2 separate regions of the Homo sapiens genome follow, and region 2 is linked to region 1. Evidence: promoter capture Hi-C in 16 types of primary human blood cells and fetal thymus (Javierre and others, 2016). All regions are on one chromosome and are shown on one strand. The core of a region is centred on a gene start or on the middle of the fragment in contact, and the rest is flanking DNA. Distances in the headings are between cores, read along the strand shown.

Region 1 (4,505 bases), core at 1,975-4,474:
CCGATGGCCTCTGGCCTGCAGTATCTGGAGGAAGCACCCAAGGTATGGGGGGAGCTGGGGCCTTGTCCACACCTCCCTTCCTCCTGTTTACCCAGCCCCATCCCACATCAGGCCTTTCCCCAGGCCTAAGGGGTGCCCCAGACCTCGGGTGCTGGCCTCCCCTCTCTTCCCATGCTGGTCTGTGTTCCCTCCTCAGTTCCTGGCCTTCACCTGCGGCCTCCTGCGCGGCGCCCTCTATACCCTGGGCATTGAGAGCGTGGTCACCGCCTCCGTGGCAGCCCTGCCCGTCTGTGAGTCATGGGGGGTGGGGGGATTCTTCTCATCCCTTGAGTTGCTGGGGGCTTCAGAGTTCCAGCCCCACTCCTGTGTGTGTGCCTGGGAGGCAGGCCCAGTTTTAAGTCACCTGCTCAGCCACACGGCTGGTGCAGGCCCATCTGTGCCCCTGGCTCCGTGACGTCGCCAGCCCTGCAGAGAGAACTGTCTGGCGGTTTTGAACATCGTTTCCCAGCATGGGAGCCGAGGTGGACGCAATAGAAGTTATCCTCACTGATCCTTCGATGGGGGCGACGGCAGGCTCCAGGGAACTTGCAGCCTGCCTGACTGGGTGTCCTCTGTCAGACAAGCTGGAGCCCCATTCCTGCCTGGGGACAGCCTGCCCCACCACCTCCCCCACCTTCAGTTATTTTGCCTCTGCCGGTTCCCCAGGCCCACTCATGGGGGCCCCCGGGGCCCCCGTGGGGTAGGACCGAGCAATGCATACCACAGAAGCCCGTGCCGGGCGCTTCCCTGGGGCCACATCCGTGGCCCTCATGCTCCTGGTTACTCACACAGCTCAGGGATGCGGCCCCGTGGGCGGGAGGAAACAGCCCAACCTAGCCACTGGGGTGTCAGTGCAGGACGGGGGTGAGCGCCTAAGAGCCGTCCAGGTGCCCTCTGCCTCCCCCATCCCATCCTCAAGCCTAAGCCAGGCCTTCTCTTCCAGGTAAGTTCCAGGTGGTGATTCCGAAATCCTAAGCCTGCCTCGCACCTGCTGAGCCGCACTGCTGCCCCTGGCCTCACCGGCCTCAGGAGACGGTGGGGCCGCTGCATTTCGGGGTGGTCTTGGGAATCCCAGGCCCTAGGGGTCACATTTGCTCAGGAAGTGGGTATCAAATTGAGGTGGGGGTGTCAGAGGAGGCAAAGGGGTCCCAGCTGCGGTCAGGACTGTGGTGGGATTCCCGCCTCGGCAGCGTCACTGCCCAGTAGCTGCTCAATAAAGGCTGTGTGTGTGGAATCTGACTCAGAGCAGTGGGGGAGGATCTGTGGACCGACTGTCACAGGTCCTGCAGGGGAGTGGGTACCCTCTCTGGCTCCCATGCCCCTCAGACCTTCCCTCCCCTGCCACGTCCCCCTCCACTCCCTCCCTCCCCGTGCTCCTGGCAGAGGGATGCTGGCCTCCGGCATGGGCGGCCTTACTGGCACCTCTGCCAAGTCAACAAGTCTGGGGCTGCCCTCTGCCCGGCGATGTGCACAGAACGGAGCGTCTTCCTGGGGAGCAGGGCTGGGAGTGCCCGGAGTGTAGGCCAGGTCGGGCTGGGGCTGCCAGGGCTGGGGATGCATGGGGTAGGGGGAGGCCAGACACCCCCATGGACACACGCGGCCCCTACGCACTCCTGCTGCCCGTCCCTGGGCAGAGTGGCCCTTATGCTGCCCCCTCCCACCCCGCTCGCATCTGTAGCATCTGGGGACTCCTGGGCTTCGCCGCCCGCTGCCTGACATGGGTAAGTGCCCCAGGCTCAGAGCTGCCCACCAAGGCTGGGGGTGAACCCCAAATGGGATGAGAAAGGGGCCCCTTGCTAAAGAACCTCCCCTGTAGAGTGGGGTCCAGTCACCCCGTCAGGCCCTGCCTGGGTCACCCCTTCCTATTCCACCTGGCTGAGTGTAGCTGTGTCCTGTGTCTGCCTCTGCAGTGCTGCCCGCCTGGCCCACTCCCCAAACGCCTGCTCCCCCTAGTGTCCAGCAGCCTCCTGGCCACTGTGCTCCCAGCCCGGGGCAATCTCGTCCTGCGGAGACGGCTCATTTACATTGGGCCACGCTTCATGATCGGGCCGGGGGTGTGGGGGGTTGGCACGGAGGCCCACTGCAGATGCCCACGCTCAGATGCCAGCCCCGCCTCCCTGGTGGGCCAGGGAGGAACCTTCCCAGAGCAACCGGCTTGAAGGGTGGGGGAGGAGACGGGGTCCCAGGTCGCAGGAAGGGCCCTGGCTCTGGCCGTAGGGAGCAGTGTTTGGTCACCTGGGCAGAACTCAGGGCTGGGTGGGTTCCCTTTATCTTGTCCTGGGCACTGTTCTGGGGCTGCCTCCCCCATCCCCATCGGAGCACCCCGTCTGTCAGGGAAGCAACTGTTGACCCCGTTACGCCAGCAGCCACAGGGAGCCGGGGCCCCAGAGAGCCGAGGGGCCTTCAGGGCATCTCCTGCCCAGCCTTACCCCGGCCCTCACCCCTCAGAGGGCATCTGTGGGGAGGCAGTCACTGAGTGCTGGCCCCGAGGGCAGGAGACAGAGCCTTGGCGAGCCTGGGAGTAGCAACCACTGACTGCTTCCAAATCCCCGCCCTGCCTCTGTGTGCCCTGGGGCCGAGGACTTCACTTCTCTGGGCCTCAGTGTCCTCATCTGTGAAGCGGGCATCACACCTGGCCCCCTGGGTGGTGGAGAGGAAGACGGGGCTATGGTGTAGCAAGCCTTGATGTGTGTGCTGTTGCCCTTGTCCTATGGACATCCATTTAGAACAGCGCCAGGTAAATGGGTCAGCACAGCCCCGGGTCAGGTGCGCCAGGCCCTGAGCTGAGGGGACTCCCACCCAGTGCCTCCCTCGCGACAGCCACGAGAGGCAGGTGCCCACTCAGCAATGAGGAAGCCATGGCTCGGAGAGTGAAGTCACCTGCCCAAGGTCACATACCTGGGCCACGGAGGAGCTGGCATCCCAGCTCCCTGTCCCCCCCACACCAGCAGAAGTGCCTGGGCCTGTGGCTGCCTTAAGGAGATTGAGGCAGTGCTGCGGGATGCATCTCCGTTCCTTACCAGGGATGGGGACACAAGACTGAGTCCAGTCGGAGTCCCAGTCCTCGAGAGCAGAGAGCACTGGGACAGGCAGGCGCTGGGGAAGGGGCGGGGACAGGCAGGCAAACCGGTCAGGCGGGCACTGGGCTGAGGCCTCCATCTGGATGGGCCTGCGCTGACAGTCCGGGCTGGTGTGGCAGCTGCTCGTGGGGCAGGCAGCTGGGGCCGTGAGGCCACCGTCAGGTACGAGTGGGACTGGGACTGGGGGTGGGGAGTGGTGGGCAGGCTACCAACTCTCAGCACCCCAGTTTCCTCTGCCCCTCAGCCTTTCCCTATCCCTGTCCCCCACACAGCATCCTTCCCTGTCCTGCTTTCGGCTCTTCACATTGGAAACGCGGTACACCCATCTTGCCCGAGTTTGCTGAGCCTCTCCCCAAATTGGACCACCGCGATTTCATTGCTCCCTCACAATTCCCCCTCCACCGTATCATTCAATGCCCACAGGTACCCAGCTCTGATTTTCACTCACCCTGCTTCTCATCTGCTCTCCAGCTCACCTCACTAGCTCCATGTCCTTCCAAAGCGTGCCAGCCTCCCACAGCGCCCACACCTTAATGACCCCTTGGTCACTCAGCCACCACACCGGACCCCCTATTTCCCCAGCCCATGTCTGCTCAGCACTCCCCAGTGTCCTAGCCTCTTGGAAACTCCCAGGAGCTTCCCAACACCCAGCCTCAAATTAACCCCTAGCCAACCCCAGCGGTTCTCCGTTCCCTCCTCTGGCCATCCCTCCTTATCCTGCCCCTCACTGTACCCTGAAGGCCACCTCTACCCCCTTCTCCCAAGTGACCTAGGAACCCAGCATCTGGGACTTGGCCTTTCCCCTGTCCAAGCTGTCGGGCAGGGCAGGGACCCTGACCTCAGCTCTCTGCTGTTCGTGCCCCAGAGGCTACGCCAAGCCTGTGTGCTCCCTCCTGCCTCAGGAGCAGGCCCCCAGCACCCAGCTGCCCGGCTGCCATGCACAAACATTACAAAGTCCACTTCGCCAAGGATGCCCAGAGCCCCAACGGGCACTACTTCTGGGACCCAGAGTTGGGGCACCGAAAAGGTACGGGTTCAGTTTGGGGGCGGGTGATGGCCGACAGAGGCCTGTGAGGAAGCCAGAGTGAATGGAGGAACAGAAGGGGAGCTGTCATCCCCAGGAGAGAAAAGCCACTTGCACTCCACCCAGAGGCATCTGTGTAGCAGCAGGGCCTGGGACCCAGGACCCGGACCACAGGGCCTGCGGGCCCAAAGATAGGAGCCTGGGCTGGAGTTGGAAGCAGGGGCCGCCTGGCCTGCCCTGCCCCGTTTCCAAACCCTGAGGCCTGTGTGGATGGCCTCCAGCCTGGAGGGGAGCAGTGTGCTGGGAGTGAGGGGTAGGAGAGGGAGCCCCCCCACTGAACATGTCTGGATGAGGCTGGGCCC
Region 2 (4,696 bases), core at 1,186-3,685, 180 kb before region 1:
CACAATGTGCCCAACGCACCTCCAGATGCACACACTCCCAAGATTCACTATGGATCCCTCGCCAGTTTCCCTACTTCCTCTCCCTCCCACTCCAGGCCTGGCCAGCAGGGACTCCCACACCTACACGCCATGCACACACAAGTACTCAGATTCAGCTCCACTGTCGGAACAGAGAGCTGTGAATACGCGTGGAGGGATGCCACGTTCTCGCACACTTCACTCAAGCCACTGCATCCACCATAAGCAGCCCAGCGGTTTTTGCACATGTTGTACATGCACGATCACATACAGTAAGGGTCCTGTACGTTTTGTGCACCACAGACTTGATCGTCATTGATCTCTCCCTCTCTCTAGATATATGTATGTGTATATATGTGATGTATATATCAACCTTTAAAAAATTTAATTTTATTTTTTTGAGACTGAGTCTCGCTCTGTTGCCCAGACTGGAGTGCAATGGCATGATGTTGGCTCACTGCGATCTCCACCTCCCCAGGTTCAAGCGATTCTCCTCCCTCACCCTCCCAAGTAGCTGGAATTACAGGTGCCCGCCACCACACCTGGCTAATTTTTGTATTTTTAGTACAGACGGGGTTTCACCATGTTGGCCGGGCTGGTCTCAAACTCCTGACCTCAAATGATCCACCCGCTCCCCCCTTGGCCTCCCAAAGTGCTGGGATTACAGGCGTGAGCTACCGCGCCCAGCCAACCTTTTTTTAATTTTTAAAAAACTAAACTATGCCCAGCTAATTTTTGTTTTTGTAGAGACGGGGTATCACCATATTGCCCAGGCTAGTCTAGGATTCCTGGGTTCAAGCAATCCCCGCCGCCTCAGCCTCCCAAAGTGTTGAGATTACAGGTATGAGCCACTGCACCCGGCCAATCTGTGTGCTTGTGTATATCACACCATACCTATTCTCACACCTCACACACAAACATCATAAATGGTTGAACTCACAACCACACAGGTTCAAGAGTCATCCTGACAACCACAACCATTCTTCACACAATTTTGCCGATGTAAAACCTCCCTCTATAACCTCAGACACAGCCTTACACACACCACTCCACAGCCAGATTGACAACCACAGCAACAAACACGGCTCAACCACAGCCATCCAGCACTCGGGCTGTGTCCCAGACACACAGCAGCTCCCACACTCACACAGAGCCCCGGGTGCACAACCGCACAGCTGATAATCATAGGCACAGTCCCACACACTGATCCCTGACGCGGACCCCCTTTTCCATCCTGTCACCCGCTTGGAGGAGCATCCCACTTAAATGTCCACGTCTCCACTCCCATCTCCCACAAACTCTCCGTTGCACACCACTGCCAGCCACGGTATCAATGCAGATCACACACCCTCTAGTTCCTCTCTACACACACACACACACACACACACACGCACACACGGCTTCACACACCTCCACACCTCACTCATCCAACCCCAAGGTTCCACGCGCACCGTCCCATGAAACAGCTCCACTTCTGGACACAGTTCCGCCCAGCCCCATGCACCATCACAGTGACACACAATCAAAAGTCAATCATAGTCACCTATCACTGATCCAGTGCCACACTGTCCACCACACGCGCGCGCGCACACACACACACACACACACACACCAACAGGCAGAAAGACAACCACAGCCGCACAGCCTCTTGGTCAATCACACCTAATCCTACAACCAGTTCCACTCTCTGCCATGAAGACAGCCACACACACAGCCACACACATGCACATCAGGCCAAGCAGAAAGTCGACTACAGTCGCACTAGCTCTTGGTCGTAAAGTGCTACCAGCAATCCAATTCTACACACACACCATTCCAGTCAGAGGTCGCCCACGTTTTCACATTGCTAAAAGTGTCACATCATACACACAGTCCCATCACAGGGTTACACGGACAGTCGCTTTCACCCTCATACCCACAGCCTGACACACTCTCTTACACACACGCAAAGCCACACACACACACACACACACACACACAAACACAGGCAGGCAGGAGACTCCCATCGTGGCCCAGCCCCGCAAGCCGCACCAACTTACCCTGGCCTGCCCAGCCCCGCGCACCAGGCTCACCCGCAGTCACAAGGGCCCCCTCCCTCTCCCTCCCAGGCCCCGCCCCGTCCTCGCTGTTTACCTGCGCTGGGGTGGGGGGCATGGGACCCCAGCCAGGCCTCCAGATCCCGGAGAGCCCCAGGACGGGGCAGGGGGCATCCGGGAGCCCCAAGGCCCTTCCCCGTCTCAGGGCGAGCGGGCCCAGGGTTGCCCCCGCCCCCCATCATCGCGGCTCTCCGAGAGTCCCGCGCCCCACTCCCGGCACCCACCTGACCGCGGGCGGCTCCGGCCCCGCTTCGCCCCACTGCGATCAGTCGCGTCCCGCAGGCCAGGCACGCCCCGCCGCTCCCGCTGCGCCGGGCGTCTGGGACCTCGGGCGGCTCCTCCGAGGGGCGGGGCAGCCGGGAGCCACGCCCCCGCAGGTGAGCCGGCCACGCCCACCGCCCGTGGGAAGTTCAGCCTCGGGGCTCCAGCCCCGCGGGAATGGCAGAACTTCGCACGCGGAACTGGTAACCTCCAGGACACCTCGAATCAGGGTGATTGTAGCGCAGGGGCCTTGGCCAAGCTAAAACTTTGGAAACTTTAGATCCCAGACAGGTGGCTTTCTTGCAGTGCCTGCCCCAGAGCCTTTTCCTTGGTTGTGTGGCCTGCTTCGATCTCTCTTCCCACAGATCTCATCGTCTTTAGGTCTCTTCTCAAAGGCCACCTCCTCCGGCAGGCCTTCCCTGATTGCCCCCTTCTAAATGGCACCCTTCCACCAAAACATTACATACTCCTCTTGATTTTGTTCACAAAACTTTTCAGGGCCTAAAATTACCTTATTTATTTATTGAGAGGGAGTCTCGCTCCGTCACCCAGGCTGGAGTGCAGTAGCGCGATCTCGGCTCACTGCAACCTCCACCTCCCAAGTTCAAGCGATTCTCCCATCTCAGTCTCCCGAGTAGCTGCGACTACAAGTGTCTGCCACCACGCCCGGCTACTTTTTATATTTCTAGTAGAGACGGGGTTTCGCCATGTCGGCCAGGCTGGTCTCAAACTCCTGACCTCAAGTGATCCTCCCGCCTCGGCCTCCCAAAGTTCTGGGATTACAGGAGTGAGCCACCGCCCCCGGCCCCTAAAGTTATTTTATATAACATATATCACATCATTATGTTATGTTATATATTATGTTATTGGCAAGGGAATGTGATATCTAAGAATTGGGCTCAGGGTTCAAATTTGATTCCGGCACTTACTTGCTGTGCAGGCCTTGGGCAAGTAACTTAACCTCTCTGTGCCTCAGTTTCCCTAGTCAATAAAATATAAATAGTCTAAGGCTTTGAGAATTGAATGTTAACTAATACAGGGACAGTACTTTTTTTTTTTTTTTTTTTTTTTTGAGACACAGTCTCGCTGTGTTACCCAGGCTGGAGTACAATGGCGCTATCTTATCTTGGCTCACTGCAACTCCTGGGTTCAAGTCATTCTCCTGTCTCAGCCTCCCGAGTAGCTGGGATTACAGGCGCCCGCCACCATGCCCAGCTAATTTTTCCATTTTTAGTAGAGACGGGGTTTCCCCATGTTAGCCAGGCTGATCTCGAACTCCTGACCTTAGGTGATCTGCCCACCTCGACCTCCCAAAGTGCTGGAATTACAGGCGTGAGCCACCGCGCCTGGCCAGGACAGTACTTTTATCAGGGCCTCGCAAATAGAAAGTACTTAGTAAATACTCGCTACTGACTGTATATTATGGGTTCACTTTTTCTCCTCTACTATATAAGCTCTGAGGGCAGGGCTGTATATTGTCAGCACTGTTATCTTCAGCAAGAGCTTGATGCAAAGTCGGTGCTCAATAAATTGTGACTGAATGAAGGAATCAAGTCCTAGAATAGTAAGCTGGCCAAAGCTGGGAGGACACGATTCTAATATAACTTGAGGACGGCGCAGTGGCTCACACCTGTAATCCCAGCACTTTGGGAGGCCGAGGGGGCTGGATCACTTGAGGTCAGGAGTTCGAGACCAGCCTGGCCAACATGGTGAAACCCTATCTCTACTAAAAATACAAAATTAGCCGGGTGTGGTAGCGCACGCCTGTAATCCCAGCTACTTGGGAGGCTGAGGCAGGCGAATCGCTTGAACCCCAGAGGCAGAGGTTGCAGTGAGCCGAGATCACACCATTACACTCCTGCCTGGGCAACAAGAGCGAAACTCCATCTCAAAAATAAATAAATGCATACATACATACATGGCTCAATGCGCGCGGTACCCCGGTCACTACACTATGAAATGCTTCCAGCAGAGGGCGCTGCTGGTCCGTGGACCAAACTCCAGACTCGGCACAGCTCCGCGCTCCCTCCGAATTGCAGCCAACGTGCCCTCTACTTCCCTGTTGTCTGAGCCCCAGTGCTGATGCTTCCTCCTCCAGGAAGCCCTTTCTTATTTCCCAGGTTTCCAGGCTCTTGGGCTCCCACATCCAGCCCTGCCAACTCTGGGTCATCAGTGTGGGGAGACAGGTCAGTCCCATATTAGACTATGAGCCCCAAGAAGGGAGGAGGCGGCCAGGGGCCATGTCAGTCTCCACTGTGTCCCCAGTGCCACCTAGCACAGGCCCAACGCAGAGAAGGCATTTGGGAGAATAGGTGCTGATT

Evidence for each region. The method cuts DNA at HindIII sites, captures the fragments that hold promoters and counts their contacts. A CHiCAGO score of 5 or more calls a contact.
Region 2: a contact is called between the fragment with the promoter of KLC3 here and the fragment with the promoter of NKPD1 in region 1, in 2 of 17 cell types (megakaryocytes and erythroblasts). The highest score is 6.9, in megakaryocytes.

What each region holds. Positions count from the first base shown.
Region 1 is chr19:45,159,701-45,164,205 of GRCh38, reverse strand. It overlaps NKPD1 (NTPase KAP family P-loop domain containing 1), which reads left to right and starts at 3,224. Exons shown (of 5, transcript NM_198478.4): 1 at 3,224-3,281; 2 at 3,985-4,146. The coding sequence starts at 4,056. TRAPPC6A (trafficking protein particle complex subunit 6A) reads left to right here. Exons shown (of 6, transcript NM_001270891.2): 4 at 1-42; 5 at 197-290; 6 at 983-1,273. The coding sequence ends at 1,014. RefSeq lists enhancers at 107-286, 2,942-3,574. The HindIII fragment of the contact is 37,147 bases long and covers 1-4,505 here.
Region 2 is chr19:45,338,489-45,343,184 of GRCh38, reverse strand. KLC3 (kinesin light chain 3) reads right to left here and starts at 2,435. Exons shown (of 13, transcript NM_177417.3): 1 at 2,339-2,435. RefSeq lists a silencer at 2,450-2,539. The HindIII fragment of the contact is 17,587 bases long and covers 1-4,696 here.